Regions from separate parts of the Homo sapiens genome. Here regions 2, 3, 4 and 5 are each linked to region 1. The links are contacts of gene promoters, found by promoter capture Hi-C in blood cells and fetal thymus (Javierre and others, 2016). All regions are on one chromosome and are shown on one strand. Each heading gives the region's core, a stretch centred on a gene start or on the middle of the fragment in contact. The rest is flanking DNA. Distances are from core to core; before and after follow the strand shown. Region 1 holds the start of VPS18 (VPS18 core subunit of CORVET and HOPS complexes). Region 2 overlaps INO80 (INO80 complex ATPase subunit). Region 3 overlaps INO80 (INO80 complex ATPase subunit). Region 4 overlaps INO80 (INO80 complex ATPase subunit). Region 5 overlaps INO80 (INO80 complex ATPase subunit).

What was found. The method cuts DNA at HindIII sites, captures the fragments that hold promoters and counts their contacts. A CHiCAGO score of 5 or more calls a contact.
Region 2: a contact is called between a fragment that was not itself captured here and the fragment with the promoter of VPS18 in region 1, in 5 of 17 cell types (endothelial precursors, M2 macrophages, M1 macrophages and 2 more). The highest score is 6.4, in endothelial precursors.
Region 3: a fragment that was not itself captured here is called in contact with the fragment with the promoter of VPS18 in region 1 in 9 of 17 cell types (M2 macrophages, total B cells, M0 macrophages and 6 more); the score reaches 8.5 in M2 macrophages.
Region 4: a contact is called between a fragment that was not itself captured here and the fragment with the promoter of VPS18 in region 1, in 5 of 17 cell types (megakaryocytes, M0 macrophages, M2 macrophages and 2 more). The highest score is 10.1, in megakaryocytes.
Region 5: a contact is called between a fragment that was not itself captured here and the fragment with the promoter of VPS18 in region 1, in 16 of 17 cell types (megakaryocytes, endothelial precursors, naive CD4 T cells and 13 more). The highest score is 34.9, in megakaryocytes.

What each region holds. Positions count from the first base shown.
Region 1 is chr15:40,893,093-40,895,805 of GRCh38, reverse strand. It overlaps VPS18 (VPS18 core subunit of CORVET and HOPS complexes), which reads right to left and starts at 1,356. Exons shown (of 5, transcript NM_020857.3): 1 at 947-1,356. The coding sequence starts at 1,037. RefSeq lists an enhancer at 541-630 and a silencer at 1,471-1,640. The HindIII fragment of the contact is 16,460 bases long and covers 1-2,713 here.
Region 2 is chr15:41,097,432-41,100,144 of GRCh38, reverse strand. The region is part of intron 1 of INO80 (INO80 complex ATPase subunit); the gene reads left to right. Among named protein-coding and RNA genes, the nearest start is that of INO80, 17 kb to the left of the region's middle. The HindIII fragment of the contact is 1,357 bases long and covers 627-1,983 here.
Region 3 is chr15:41,079,046-41,081,758 of GRCh38, reverse strand. It overlaps INO80 (INO80 complex ATPase subunit), which reads left to right. Exons shown (of 36, transcript NM_017553.3): 8 at 686-739; 9 at 1,855-2,058. Among named protein-coding and RNA genes, the nearest start is that of INO80, 36 kb to the left of the region's middle. The HindIII fragment of the contact is 1,319 bases long and covers 704-2,022 here.
Region 4 is chr15:41,039,634-41,042,346 of GRCh38, reverse strand. The region is part of intron 24 of INO80 (INO80 complex ATPase subunit); the gene reads left to right. Among named protein-coding and RNA genes, the nearest start is that of INO80-AS1, 24 kb to the right of the region's middle. The HindIII fragment of the contact is 3,915 bases long and covers 1-2,713 here.
Region 5 is chr15:41,022,381-41,025,093 of GRCh38, reverse strand. The region is part of intron 25 of INO80 (INO80 complex ATPase subunit); the gene reads left to right. It overlaps INO80-AS1 (INO80 antisense RNA 1), which reads right to left. Exons shown (of 5, transcript NR_170322.1): 4 at 457-607. Among named protein-coding and RNA genes, the nearest start is that of INO80-AS1, 6.9 kb to the right of the region's middle. The HindIII fragment of the contact is 2,745 bases long and covers 1-2,713 here.

The DNA.
Region 1 (2,713 bases), core at 107-2,606:
ATAGTTTGATATCAAGTCGTTTGCTGGTCACCTTTACAATAGAGGTCTGGAGCTCTTTCCACACTCTGACAGCAGTGAGGGGTTGATTCTTTGAACCCTTAAGATGCTGTCACAGCATGATATACCTGCTCCCACTGGTAATGGGGCTGCGTGGAGGTGGGACGGGACTGGTGGTCTGGGTATTCTCCCTTATCAGGTCTTTGGCCCAGCAATCCCAGCTTAACTGAAGTAGTATAGCCCCATTCTCTGCCCCCCTCCCTGCCCATGCGGTAATGAGCCTCAGTGTAGAGTTGGCAAGTGCTGGGATATTTTGAGCATTGAATGAAGGTAAAGACTAGAGTGAAAGCAGCTCCAATTCGTTAACTCCACTCACTGGAACAGTTCCCCAGGGCTCCCTATGCCCTCATTCTCCTGGAGACTCACTACTTTCTACAAAAACGTCCCCAAACTCCAGGCTGCACCCAGCTATAGCCAAGGCCAAAAAGATTTCATCTCCATTTTCCCCGTTCAGCGACAAAATTCCCTCTGGGACCCTCCCTTCTTCCTCTGCAATACTCCGCCTTCACCACTTTCTTTGTCCATTCCTTCCCTCCCACCTCCAGAAGGGGCCTGGTGGGAAAAGCATCAGCAGAAGCCGGGAGCCCATTCTAAGTTCTCCCAACAGCCCAACTGCGCCCTGTAGGTGAGTAATTCCTTATCTGGGCCCCAATTCCCTCTCAAAAGGACCCTAGCGGTAGAGCCTAGATCACGCGGCAGCTCCCGTTGCTCTTTCAAACTTCGACTATCCACCAGCTGGGGGCCAAGAGAGCCTGAGGAGAATCAGGGGCCTAGACCCGGAAGGCACGGCCCAGGGGATGACCCCGAGCTCTTGGAGCTGCCCTCCTCGCTGCTCCCACGCAAATGCTAGGAGAGCCGAAAGGGGCAGCGGCACCCTCCTCTTCCTTACCCGAGTGGGGGATGCCCACGCTAGGGCAGCCGGGCTGCAAGACGGCCGAGCGGGACAGCGAGTTCTCGTACTCATCCAGGATGGACGCCATGGTGCCCGGCCTCTGGGCTCTTTGTCCGGGGCCTGGGGATTACAAAAGGGCTACCCCCCCGGGGTCCCCGTCGCCCCAGAATGGAAGCTGTAACTCCCCAGCCTCTGACAGATCCTGGGAACCTGCAGCCGTCGCCTCCTCTTTAAAATCCTGAGGATCCTCTTGCTCTTGCCTTATGCAGCGAGATAATCGGGCAGCCCTCGTCCTTGAATCTGGCGCAGTCTTGCACCTTACTCCCCGCCCCCGCTACAAAAAAATCACAGGCTCCCTTCAGCCGGTGCCAGGTGATCCCAACCTCGCCCCGGCAGCTCAGCTGACTCCCGCCCCCGTGACGCGGGCCTAAAACGTAACTTCCGGGTTCTCAGAGCCCCGCGTACGCTGGCGCACAACGTCGCCGGGCCAGCCAGCAGAAGGCGAGACGAGGGCTGAGGGCTGGGCGCGTGGCGAGTGCTGCTGAACACAAGCCCCGCCCCCAGGATCCTGCTGCAGTTCCGAGCTTTGACACCAGGAGGCAATCCCGGCTTTCTCAGCCGGCCTTCCCCACCCGCCCCGCGCCGCCCAGTTTTGGCTTTCGTGCCCAAGCTCCGCTCCCTCGGGTGGTCTGTCCAGCCTCCCTGACCAGCTCCCGCTCCCGCCTCTCTAAACAGCCTCGGGGAACCTCCCGTTCCTCAATCCAATCGCTGTCTCTATCCCACCGTCACAGGGCACACGCAGACAACTCCTGGCCACTCTTCTCCCTTACCCAAAGGCCCCCCAGCTTCCAGGAGACCGCAGAGCTGGTGGCCAGGCTAGTGGGAAGCCCTGTGCCAGGAACCGCCCTGACCTGCCCCACAGTGGCTCCTTGGCTCAGGGTTGCTGGGCCGCTTCCATTCACTCATTCACCAAAATGTGGTTGAGCACTTACTCTGTGCCAGGCCTTGGGCTGGGCGCTGGGGTCACAGAGATGAGGACAGCCCCTCCCCGCCCTGGAAAAGGTCGTAAGCCAGCAGGGGCGCTGGACCCGTAAATAGACCATTCATACTAGAAAAGCAAGTGATGGATTATCCATCAGGCACTTACTCCACGAATGAGCGTCCACTCTGTGCCAAGCACTGTTCCAGGCTCTGGGGACGTGGCAGAGAACAAGACGGAAAATGTCTCTTGCCTGGTGGGGCGTACCCAGCGACGTGGCCACGGCACTGAGAGCGTGAAGGAGCAGGGAACAAATACCTGCCAAGCCTAGCAAGAACGAGGGACAAGTGGGAGCAAGCGTGAAGGCGGGGGCCGCCCAGCCTGAGGTGGAGAGGGGAGTCCTCAGCCAGGGACCTGCGAGGGCTGGGGCGCGACTGTGGTTGGGTTTTCCTCTCTCACCTGCTTAGGCGACCCAGATGGAGTCTGTTCCCTTCTGGGGCCCTTGGATTCTACCTTGCTAAAGTGGAAGGCTCTGGACTAGGGTCGCCACCGTCCTGGCTCTGCTGGGCGGCCCCCGCCTAACAACTAAGAGCATCCCTTTGCTCTCAGAAGTTTCCAGGTTTGCACCATACCTTATGTGGTTGGGTTACTCTTGCTCAACTTCCTGGCCACGTGCGGAGAACTGTGACTCTCACCAGCCCCACTGAGGGCTATCTGGGCTCTCTGGCTTGGAGGGGCACTAGTCCTGGGGCAGGTGACAAGTATGCTGTCCAGGCTCATTTCCC
Region 2 (2,713 bases), core at 56-2,555, 200 kb before region 1:
CGAGATTGGGCCACAGCATTCCAGCCTCGGCTACAAGACTTTGTCTCAAAAAAAAAAGAAAAGAAAATATTCCATTCATTTCGAATCACTCCGTATTACTTGGTAGTCATACCTCCTTAATTAGTGTCATTTTCCTTATCAGGTAAAATAACTAGAGCATGGATTAATTGTTCTGTAATAAAAGCTTGGGATGGAGCCAAGCAGAGTAGTTTTACATTTATACATGTATCAAGATGAATTATTTGCTGTTCTCTTAAGGGAGTTTTGTTGTATTTTAAAAACCAATTTCTTTGAAATCTTCTGGAGTGGGTGGGTACACGTTAGGTCTCATTTTGAAAAGGTGAAATTTAAAGTTTTTTTTTTTTTGGATAGTCTCACTCTGTTATGCAGGCTGGAGTACAGTGGTGCGTTCATGACTTACTGAGGTCTCAACCTCCTGGGCTCAAACCATCCTCCCTCCTCAGCCTCCCAAGTGGCTGGGTTTACAGGTGCATGCCACTACACTCAGCTAATTTTTAAATTTTTTTGTAGAGACAAGGTCTCGCCATGTTACTCAGGCTGGTCTTGAACTCTTGGGCTCAAGCTCTCCTCCTGCCTCACCTCCCAAAGTGCTGGGATTACAAGCTTCAGCCACTGCTCCTGGCCAAAAGTATTTTTTAGCATTCTTTTTTCTTTATATTACCAAGACTGACAATTTACAAACTATGAAATTCACATAATTTAAATAAAATATACAGTTCAGTATATTTTGAATATATTTTTGGTAGATTTACAGAATTGTGGAACTATCGCCACAATGGGAGTTTGGAACATTTTTTTTTTCCCTTTTTCTTTCCCTCTCTCTCACTCTCTTGTTGTGTGTGTGTGTGTGTGTTTGTTTTTTTTTTTTTTTTTTTTTTTTTTTTTTGAGACAGGGTCTTACTCCAGGCTGGAGCACAGTGGCACAATGATAGCTCACTGCAGCCTTGACTTCCTGGGCTTAAGCAATCCTCTCACCTCAGCCTCTTGAGTAGCTGGCACTACAGGCACGCATCACCATACTTGGCTAATTTTTAAATTTTTTGTAGGGACACGGTCCTGCTATGTTGCCCAGGCTGGTCTCAAACTCCTGGGCTCAAGGGATCCACCCACTTCAGCCTCCTAAATGTTGAGATTATAGGTGAGAGCCACTGTGTCTAGCCTGTCTTTTTTATTATTCTAGTGGGTATGAAGTAGTATGGTGCTTTAATTTTAATTTATTAATATTTAGCATTTTTTCATGTGTCTATTAGCTAGTCATACATCTTTGTTGGTAAAATGTTCAAAATCTTTTGCTCATTTTTAAATTGGGTTATTTATCTTATAGAGTTGTAGGTTTTATGTGTACACACTGACAAACAACTGTGTAAAAAAAAAGTTGTATATGTGGATACAAGACCTTTATCAGATAGATGATTTGCAAGTATCTTCTAGTCTGTGGCTTGTCTTCATTTTCTTTTTCTTTTTTTTGTCACCCAGGCTGGAGTACAGTTGCAAGATCATGGCTCACTGTAGCCTCAACCTCCTGGGCTGTAAGTGATCCTCCCACTTCAGCCTCCCGAATAGTTTGTCCAGAGGCCTGTGCCACCATGCCCAGCTAATTTTAAATTCTTTTGAAGAGATGAGATCTCACTGTGTTGCCCAGGTTGATCTTGTTTTCCTGGGCTGAAGTGATCCTCCCACTTCAGTCTCCCAGAGTGCTGGGATTACAGGCATGAGCCACTGTGCCTAGTTTGTCTTCATTTTCTTAATGATATATTTTAAAGTGTAAACATTTTTAATTCGCATGGGCTAATTTTTGATCTTTTGTGCTTTTGATTGCATATCTAGAATTTTTTATGGTCAGTCATGAAGATTTTCTCCTGGTTTTTCTAGAAGTTACACTGTTTTAGATAGGAAAGTTATATTAGAAAATTGTAAAAAAAAGAGAAGACAACTCAAAGATGTATGATTGCCTTTAAAGCTTATCACTTAGTTGGCCGGGCGTGGTGGCTCACGCCTGTAATCCCTGCACTTTGGGAGGCTGAGACAGGCGGATCACAAGGTCAGGAGATCAAGACCATTCTGGCCAACACGGTGAAACCCTGTCTCTACTAAAAATACAAAAAAACCGCCACAAATAAACAAAAAAACTTATCATTTCATTTAGTTGTTGTTGTTGTTGTTGTTTTTTGAGATGGGGTTTTGCTCTCGTTGCCCAGCCTGGAGTGCAGTGGCACAGTCTCGGCTCACTGCAACTTCTGCCTCCCAGGTTCAAGTGATTCTCCTGCCTCAGTCTCCTGAGTAGGTGGGATTACAGACGCCTGCCACCATGCCCAGCTAATTTTTGTATTTTTAGTATTTTTGTATTTTAGGCTGGGTACAGTGGCTCATGCCTGTAATCGTAGCACTTTGGGAGGTTGGGACTGGTGGATCACCTGAGGTCAGGAGTTCCAGACCAGCCTGACCAACATGGTGAAACCCCATCTCTACTAAAAATACAACAAATTAGCTAGGTGTGGTGGTGGACGCCTGTAATCCCAGCTACTTGGGAGCCTGAGGCAGGAGAATCACTTGAACCTGTGAGGCAGAGGTTGCAGTGAGCTGAGATCACCCTACTGCAAGAGCGAAACTCCGTCTGAAAAAAATCATAACAATAATTTATGGTTTATTGAGTATTTATGTCATTTGGTGGGCTTATTAGTCTAAATTATGT
Region 3 (2,713 bases), core at 114-2,613, 190 kb before region 1:
TACTGAAAGAGCCACCCAGCTCTGCCTCTTCAGCATCTTCTTCCATGTCAAATAGACATCATGGGGAGTCAGGTTTCTGTACTGACTTTTGTTTTTCCCCTTAGCTAGAGTGGAAAACACAAATAGCTGGGTTGTGGGCTGCTGGGTCATTTTGTGTTAGGTCTTCCTTGGAGTTTAGTTTTAGAGAAGATTAGGCTTATGTGGTGGCAGAAACTGAGTAATAGTGACATCAGGTTTGCCTAGGCTGGAGGTGGGGCTAGAATCACACTTAGGAGACTAGTTTATCTTTCTCCTAATGATTCCTGTATCTGGATGCCCTGCTCTCTCAGCCTTGCAGATTGGCCCTGGTAAGCAACATGTTTTTAATCAGGATAGTGCTAAGGTTTAGGTATTGTAACATTTTTCTAGTCCACTTCAAGCCTTACATGTAACTTAACATCTTCCCAAAAGTATACAGAAGACTATTTAAGGCATCCACAATGCTGACTTATTCTTCTTGAATGCTTCTTTAATCGTTTTATGTATGGCGTTGAGACAATACATCTGGATGACTTATAGAAGTAATATATCTTGCTTGGCTTGACATTTTCTAACCCTCTAGGAATTGAGTAAAAGACTGTTCATTCTACATAGTCTTAGTTCAAAAATGAATCCTAAATGAAATATTGTTTTTTAAATATTTTAGGCAAATAAGCAGAAAGCTTCAGCTCGTAACCTGTTTCTCACCAATAGCCGAAAGGTAAAATTGTAGTTTTGTATTTTCCATTTCATGTTTTGCTGGAATATATTCTTCTTCTTTGGGGTCCATCTTGCTGCTCTTGTCCGTCGTAACCTGTTGATCATGAATCTAATAGTTCGTAAGAGAGTTTCTGAATGTTCTCAAGCTGTTTATTTTTTATTTTTATTTTTTGAGACAGAGTCTCAGCCACCCAGGCTGGAGTGCAGTGGCAGTGATCTTGGCTCACTGCAACCACCGTCTCCCAGGTTCAAGCGATTCTCCCATCTCAGCCTCCCGAGTAGCTGGGATTATAGGCACCTGCCATCATGCCCTATAATTTTTGTATTTTAGTAGAGACAGTTTCACCATGTTGGCCAGGCTGGTCTTGAACTCCTGACCTCAGGTGATCTGCCTGCCTCAGCCTCCCAAAGTGCTAGGATTACAGGCATGAGCCACCGCGCCCGGCCTCAATCTGTTTATTAAATAAAATTGTTCTTCCTCACATTTCTGGTATTTGAACCTTTTTGGATAAGACCATAGCCCACCCTGATTTCTTGAGCAGATCATGGAATCTTCCTGTCTTCAGTCTCGTCTAAGAAATAATGATGTGAATACCTTCCCTTAGAGGAGACTAAAACAACTTCCTTTAAGAATTGTGAGGATCAGATTAGGCCATGTTATTAGTTGTGTTTCTCTGGGGTAGTCATTCAACTGTGTTTCCTCATTTATAAATGAGGGTGATGGTAATGCCAATTTCATAGGGTTTTTGTGAAGAGTAAATTGGTTTAATATATTTTTCAGTGGTGCTAAAGATGTAATAAGCAGTGATAGCTGTTATTAATGTGTGCAATAACATTTTGTAACTTCCAAGCACATCCCAGGTCCTTCTTCATCATTATAATTTTTCATCTTCTAAGGTGATAGAAATTGGATAGATTTCTTATCCCTGATAATACCACAGGGTCTGGGCCTATGTCACAGTACTGTACAAGGACATTAATCAAGTTGCAGGAGAAAGATGTGGTCAAGGATGACAGTTTGGCTGAACAGATTGAGGAATGATGTGGTTTAGAGTCCAGGAAGAACCAGCTTCTGGTATGGGGTCCTTTCCGCTGTAATGCTGTTGTTGTTTTCAGCTTGCTCACCAGTGCATGAAGGAGGTGCGTCGAGCTGCCTTGCAGGCCCAGAAGAACTGTAAGGAAACCTTGCCTCGTGCCCGCCGCCTCACCAAGGAGATGCTTCTGTACTGGAAGAAATATGAGAAAGTAGAGAAGGAGCACCGCAAGAGAGCAGAGAAGGAAGCTTTGGAGCAGCGGAAGTTGGATGAGGAAATGCGGGAGGTAGGGCAAAAGCATAACATTTTGAAAACCCTAATTACTACAGCCATTTGAAGAGATTCGTTTGCATTTTGAAAATTGTACATCTAACCAATGACACTGTCAATTTTTTGTTTTTTTTTTTTTTTTGGTAGAGATGCGGTTTCTCCACATTGCCCAGGCTGGTCTCAAACTCCTGAGCTTCGAGTGATCCGCCTGCCTTGATCTCCTACCGTCAGAAATTTTTTTAAAGACTTAATTTTGAGGATGGTGATTTTAGACTAGTAAACCAATTCTGCTTTTAGTCTTTTGGTAAGGCCCTCCTCAGGCCTTTTTCTCTTTTCTTCTAAGCTGTCTTCCTCTATTCTGGGCTCTTATTCCTCAAGAAAAAGGAATGAGCAAAAGAGAAAGAAAGTAGCTTTTAATTCATCTTGGTTTGTTTGTAGGTGCTGACTGCAGTTTTGCTTTTTTTGGACAGTAAGAAATAGATGCCAAATTCAGGGCCAGATAGGGACAGTGGACAATGAGCCCAGTTTTCTAAGACTTACCCTTCACCTACTGTACTGTTTTATTTATTTTTTTGTTTTGAGATGAAGTTTCACTCTTGTCGCCCAGGCTGGAGTGCAGTGGCGTAATCTCGGCTCTGCAACCTTTGCCTCCCACATTCAAGCAATTCTGC
Region 4 (2,713 bases), core at 146-2,645, 150 kb before region 1:
GACCCCATATCTACTAAAAAATTTTAAAAATTAGGTGGGGCGTGGTGGCTTACCCTTGTAATCCCAGCACTTGGGGAGGATGAGGTGGGCGGATCCCTTGAGGTTAGGAATTCAAGACTAGCTTGGCCAATGGTGAAACCCTGTCTCTATTAAAAATACAAAAACAATTAGCCGGGTGTGGTGGCACATACCTGTAATCTCAGCTACTCAGGAGCCTGAGGTAGGAGAATCTCTTGAACCCGGAGGCAGAAGTTGCAGTGAGCTGAGATCATGCACCTGCACTCCAGCCTGGGCAACAGAGCAAGATTCTGTCTCAAAAAAAAAAAAAAAATTAAAAATTAAAAATTAGCCAAGCATGGTGGTGGGTGCCTGTAGTCCCAGCTACTCAGTAGTCTGAGGCAGGAGAATCCCTTGAACCCAGGATGTCAAGGCTGCAGTGAACCCTGAGTGCACCACTGTACTCCAGCCTCAGTGACAGAGCGAGACCCTGCCTCAAAAAAAAAAAAAAAAAAGGAAATCTTTCCTTTCAGCCAAGCAAAATGATCGTTAGATATTATCCACTCTTAAAGGTTAGCCTAGGTTCTGAATAAAGAACTAGAAGCCGGCTGGGTACAGTGGCTCATGCCTGTTAATCCCAGTACTTTGGGAGGCCAAGGCGGGCAGAGCACCTGAGGTCAGGAGTTCAAGACCAGCCTGGCCAATGTAGTGAAACCCCGTCTCTACTAAAAAAATACAAAAATTAGCTGGGCGTGGCGGTGTGCGCCTGTAATCCCAACTACTAGGGAGGCTGAGGCAGGAGAATTGCTTGAACCCAGGAGGTGGAGGTTGCAATGAGCCAAGATCGCGCCATTACACTCCAGCCTGGGGAACAGGAGCAAAACTCCGTCTCAAAAAAAGAAAGAAAAAAAAAAAAAAGAACTAGAAGCTCCAGGTGTAACAATTAACAACAATGTAGAGGCTAGGCATCGTGGCTCATTCCCGTAATTCCAGCACTTTGGGAGGCTGAGGCGGGATGATCGCTTGAGCCCAGGAGTTAGAGACCAGCCTGGCCAACATGACAAAACCCCATCTCTACCAGAAAAATACAAAAATTAGCCAAGCATGATGCCGTGTACCTGTAGTTCCAGCTACTTGGGAGGCTGAGGTGGGAGGATTGGAAGGCTGAGGTGGAAGGATCGCCTGAGCCCAGGAGGTTGAGGCTACAATAAACGGTGATCCCACCACTGCACTCTGAGCCTCGGAGAGTGACAGAGTGAGACCCTCTACGTCTTTGCAGGAATGTGGCATTGTCTGTCTCTTCATTTAAACTTTGTTGGGTAGTGGTGTCTTATTATGTCTTTAGTTAAATTTCTCCTGTGAAAATGATATTGAATACCTTTTCTGGTGTTTATTGGCCATTTGGATAATTGCCTTTATGAAATGTTTGTTCAGAATTCTTGTTTATTTTTCTATTGGGCTGACTGTATTTTTCTTATGATTTGTAGTTCTTTGTATATTACAAATATCTTCTACTCTGTAACTTTCTCATTTTCAGTGGTACCTTCCCCTGCCCACCCTTTTTTTTTTGAAACAGGATCTGAATTGTTCTGTTGCCCAGGCTGGAATGCACTGATGCAGTCGTAGCTCAGGATTAGGGTTAGGTTAGGGTTAGGTTTGCTGTGTTGTTCAGGCCGGCCTCGAACTCTGGCCTCAAACAATCCTCCGGCCTCAGCCTCCCAAAGTGCTGGGACTTAGGCATGACCCACTGCACCCAGCCTCAATGTTGTCTTCTGATGAATAGTGAATAATTTTTGTGTCCTGTTGAAGAATTCTTTGCCTCCAACAAATTCGCGAAGATAATTCTATTTCTCTCCATATCCCGTTTATTGAAAAGACCATTCTTACTGGACTGTAGCATCACTTGTCAAGCAGGTGTCTATATATGTGTTGGTCAGTTTCTGAACTCTGTTCTCTTCCATGAACCCATTTGACTATCCTTGAACCAGTGCTACTCTATCTTAATAAGTACAGCTTCACGGTAAGTCTTGATAACTGGTGCACAGATCCTCTGACTTTGCATTTCTTCTGTATTGTTTTGGCTGTTCTTAGCCCTTCGTGTATTCATGTAAATTTTAGAATTGGCATATAAATTTTATTTTATCATATTTTCTTTCCTTTTTTTTTGGTAGCAGCAGGGTCTCACTATGTTGTGTCCAGGCTGGTCTTGAACTCCTAGGCTTAAGCAGTTCTCCCACCTTGGTCTCCCAAAGTGCTGCGATCACAGTTGTGAGCCCGTGTACTCGGCTAAATCTTATTTTAATCTCACCTCTTTTTAGCAGTCTAGGTAGTATAGGTCAGTAGTCCCCAAATGTTTTGATTATGTTCCTCTGTAATAACAACATTCGTACTCTATTTCTCCAATGTCTGTATGCTATTTTGTTTTAAATTATATACATGTATTCACATATTAATATTTACATTGTGAAGTTTACGTGTGCCTACCTTGGAAACCACCGATGTGAGCAGTTTATTTGAGTAGGGAATGGTGGTAGAGTGGAGACTCAGTGTTTACTACAGAAGATATTCCTGTGTTTTACATGCTGTACATTGTTTTTCAAACTATTTTAAATTATTTGACCTCAAAGGTCCGTGGAGGGCATGGATTTGTATATCGTAAGTGCTTATCGATTGAATGAATCTCCAGTGTAGACTGTGATCTTTGGGAATTGTCTGG
Region 5 (2,713 bases), core at 101-2,600, 130 kb before region 1:
CTCCTTTCCCACTTGGCCCCTCCCATGTTTGTAGAGTTTCTTTACATAGTATGTGCTAAACCTGAAAATGGGAGTAATTACACCGTGATTATTAGGAGGACAGGAAGAAGAGTTTAGATATCTCTATTTCATACACAGATCTACAACTTTTACCTTTCAGATCAGTCCTAGGGATTCAGATCAGTGAATAAGGCAAAATTTCATGAGATACCCTAATTATATCTTATATTGACTTCTAACCCATCTGTATTGGGGAGAGAGAAACTGATGTCCTTTGAAGCCAACCCTGGCCTTGAATTAGGCAAATTAATTTCTCTGACACATGCTATGAAAACTTGAGGGTTAGTTCAGGAAGAACTGTGCCACTATGGAAGGAATTATAGGAGCTGTTTTATCATTAGCTGAGGAAATAATTCTGCAGGGTTAATAAATTAAGGCCTTAGGAATTATTCTTACCAAAATACTGCAGCGCTTGGAGCGGTTACGCTTCCTTCAGCTAGAGCAGGAACATACGTGTCCTCAGGAAGGACGCGCTGAACGCTTAAGGGGGCAGCCCCTGAAGGTACTGTAGTTTCAGAGGTTAATGAAGCAAGAAAGGGGTTAGCTCCTGTAGGACGAGGGAGAGTATGCATTTTTTGTGGGGAGGGAAGAACGGTACGTCATGCTTCATCTCTCCTTCTGATCAAATCGGGAGGTCACTTGGGGTTAGCAGAATAGGGGGAGGCTGTCTGGGATACAGCTGACTTAGAAAGCAGGATTTACTCTAAGTATATTGGACATTTTTGCCCTCTTTTGGACCTCATAAGTACATTGCTTACATACTTACAACATGACATTGTATGATTCTGAATATATTAATATCTTGATCCTGGGCTCCTGGCCAAAGAAGCCTCTCAAAACACTGAAAAATATTTCACTAAGAACAGTGTCTTGCAAACCTCTTAAGCATTCAATCCTAGACCTGGAAGGGTATCATCAAAATGAAAATTGAAAAATAGATGAAAGTTTATAACTGGAAAAAGTTGTTTTGTTTTTAAACTATAAGAGTGCCTAGAAATGAATCCCAGGCAGAAAAACCATTTTTCCTGTTTCTCTGTTCTTTCATGCTGAGATTCTAGCTTTTGGCTTTTCATCTCGAGACTATGAGCCCAGAGTCTTTATGTATAATTCCAATATAAGTTCTGCTTTTTTACAAAATAAATAAATAAATAAAAATTTTTAAATCAAAACGGTTATCTGTGAGTATAAAAATTGGTCTGTATGAGGTTTTTTTGTTGTTTTTTTTTGTTTCTTTTTTTCGTTTTGTTTTGTTTTTTTTTTTTTTTGAGACAGAGTCTCACTCTGTCACCCAGGCTGGAGTGCAGTGGTGCAATCTCAGCTCACTGTAACCTCCACCTCTTGGATTCAAGTGATTCTCCCACCTCAGCCTCCAGAGTAGCAGAGATTACAGGCAGGCACCACCATGCCCAGCTAATTTTTGTATTTTTAGTAGAGACGGGGTTTCACCATGTTGGCCAGGCCAGTCTCGAACTCCTGACCTCAGGTGATTCACCCACCTCGGCCTCCCAAACTGCTGGGATTACAGGTGTGAGCCACCGCGCTTTAGTCTTACTAGAGAAGACTAAATATGCTTTACTTATCTAAGAGTATGCATGCTGTTCAAGACATATAGAACTGGTCATATTTCTATAGTCTAGACTTACTTTTTAAACTTTTTATAGAAGTATAGCTGCTATTAATTTTGCAGGTCTGCGACACACATCCTACATGGGAGATGTTTGCTCTGACCCACGATCTGCTGGGATACTGCCATGTCAAGTCATAGAAGGGAGAGAGACCCAATTTTCATCCACCTGCTTTGTATTCCTGTATTTATTTGCTTTCTTTTGGTCCATATTTATTTGCCCATGCTCATGTATTAGTGGGAAAAATGAATAAGTTGGAAGCAAGAAAACAAGTTCCTTCTTTTTTTAACTTTTTTTTTTTTTTTTTTGAGACAGTCTGTCACCCTGTTGCCCAGGCTGGAGTGCAGTGGCACAGTCTTGGCTCATTGCAACATCTGCCTCCTAGGTTCAAGCCATTCTTGTGCCTCAGCCTCCCAACTATCTGGGATTAGAGGTGAACGCCACCATGCCAGGCTAATTTTTGTATTTTTTGTAGAGATGGGGTTTTGCCATCTTGGCCAGGCTAGTCTTGAACTCCTGACCTTAGGCGATCTGCCACCTCAGCCTTCCAAAGTGCTGGGATTACAGGTGTGAGCCACCATGCTCAGCCGAAAACAAGTTCCTTTTGGAGAGGATAAAGGTGATATGAGATTCTAGTATTGTTTGGATAAACTATTTTTGTTGTGAACTGGTTTTGGAACTCCAGGCCCAGTTTGCTGTGACCCTCTGTAGTTTTGCATCTGGACCATAGATGGCACTGCTCCCTAGCAAACTCAGTTCAGCTTCATCTGCAAGCCAGAGTACTCTCTGGTTATTGGTAAATGATGCTCTTTCTGTCACGTTGGTACCCTCCAGAGGCACCTACAGCCCATGGTCAGCTGTTCATATGTCTCAAGGCAGTATTTCTCAAGGTTCAACTTGGGACGCTGGGGTGCTTGTCAAAAACATAGGTCTATTGGCCCCTCCCTCAGTTCTTCTGGTTCAAAATCTACACTTTTGGTCCGCTTCAAAGGAGGTCCTTATGTGTACCAAAACCTGACAGCCATTTC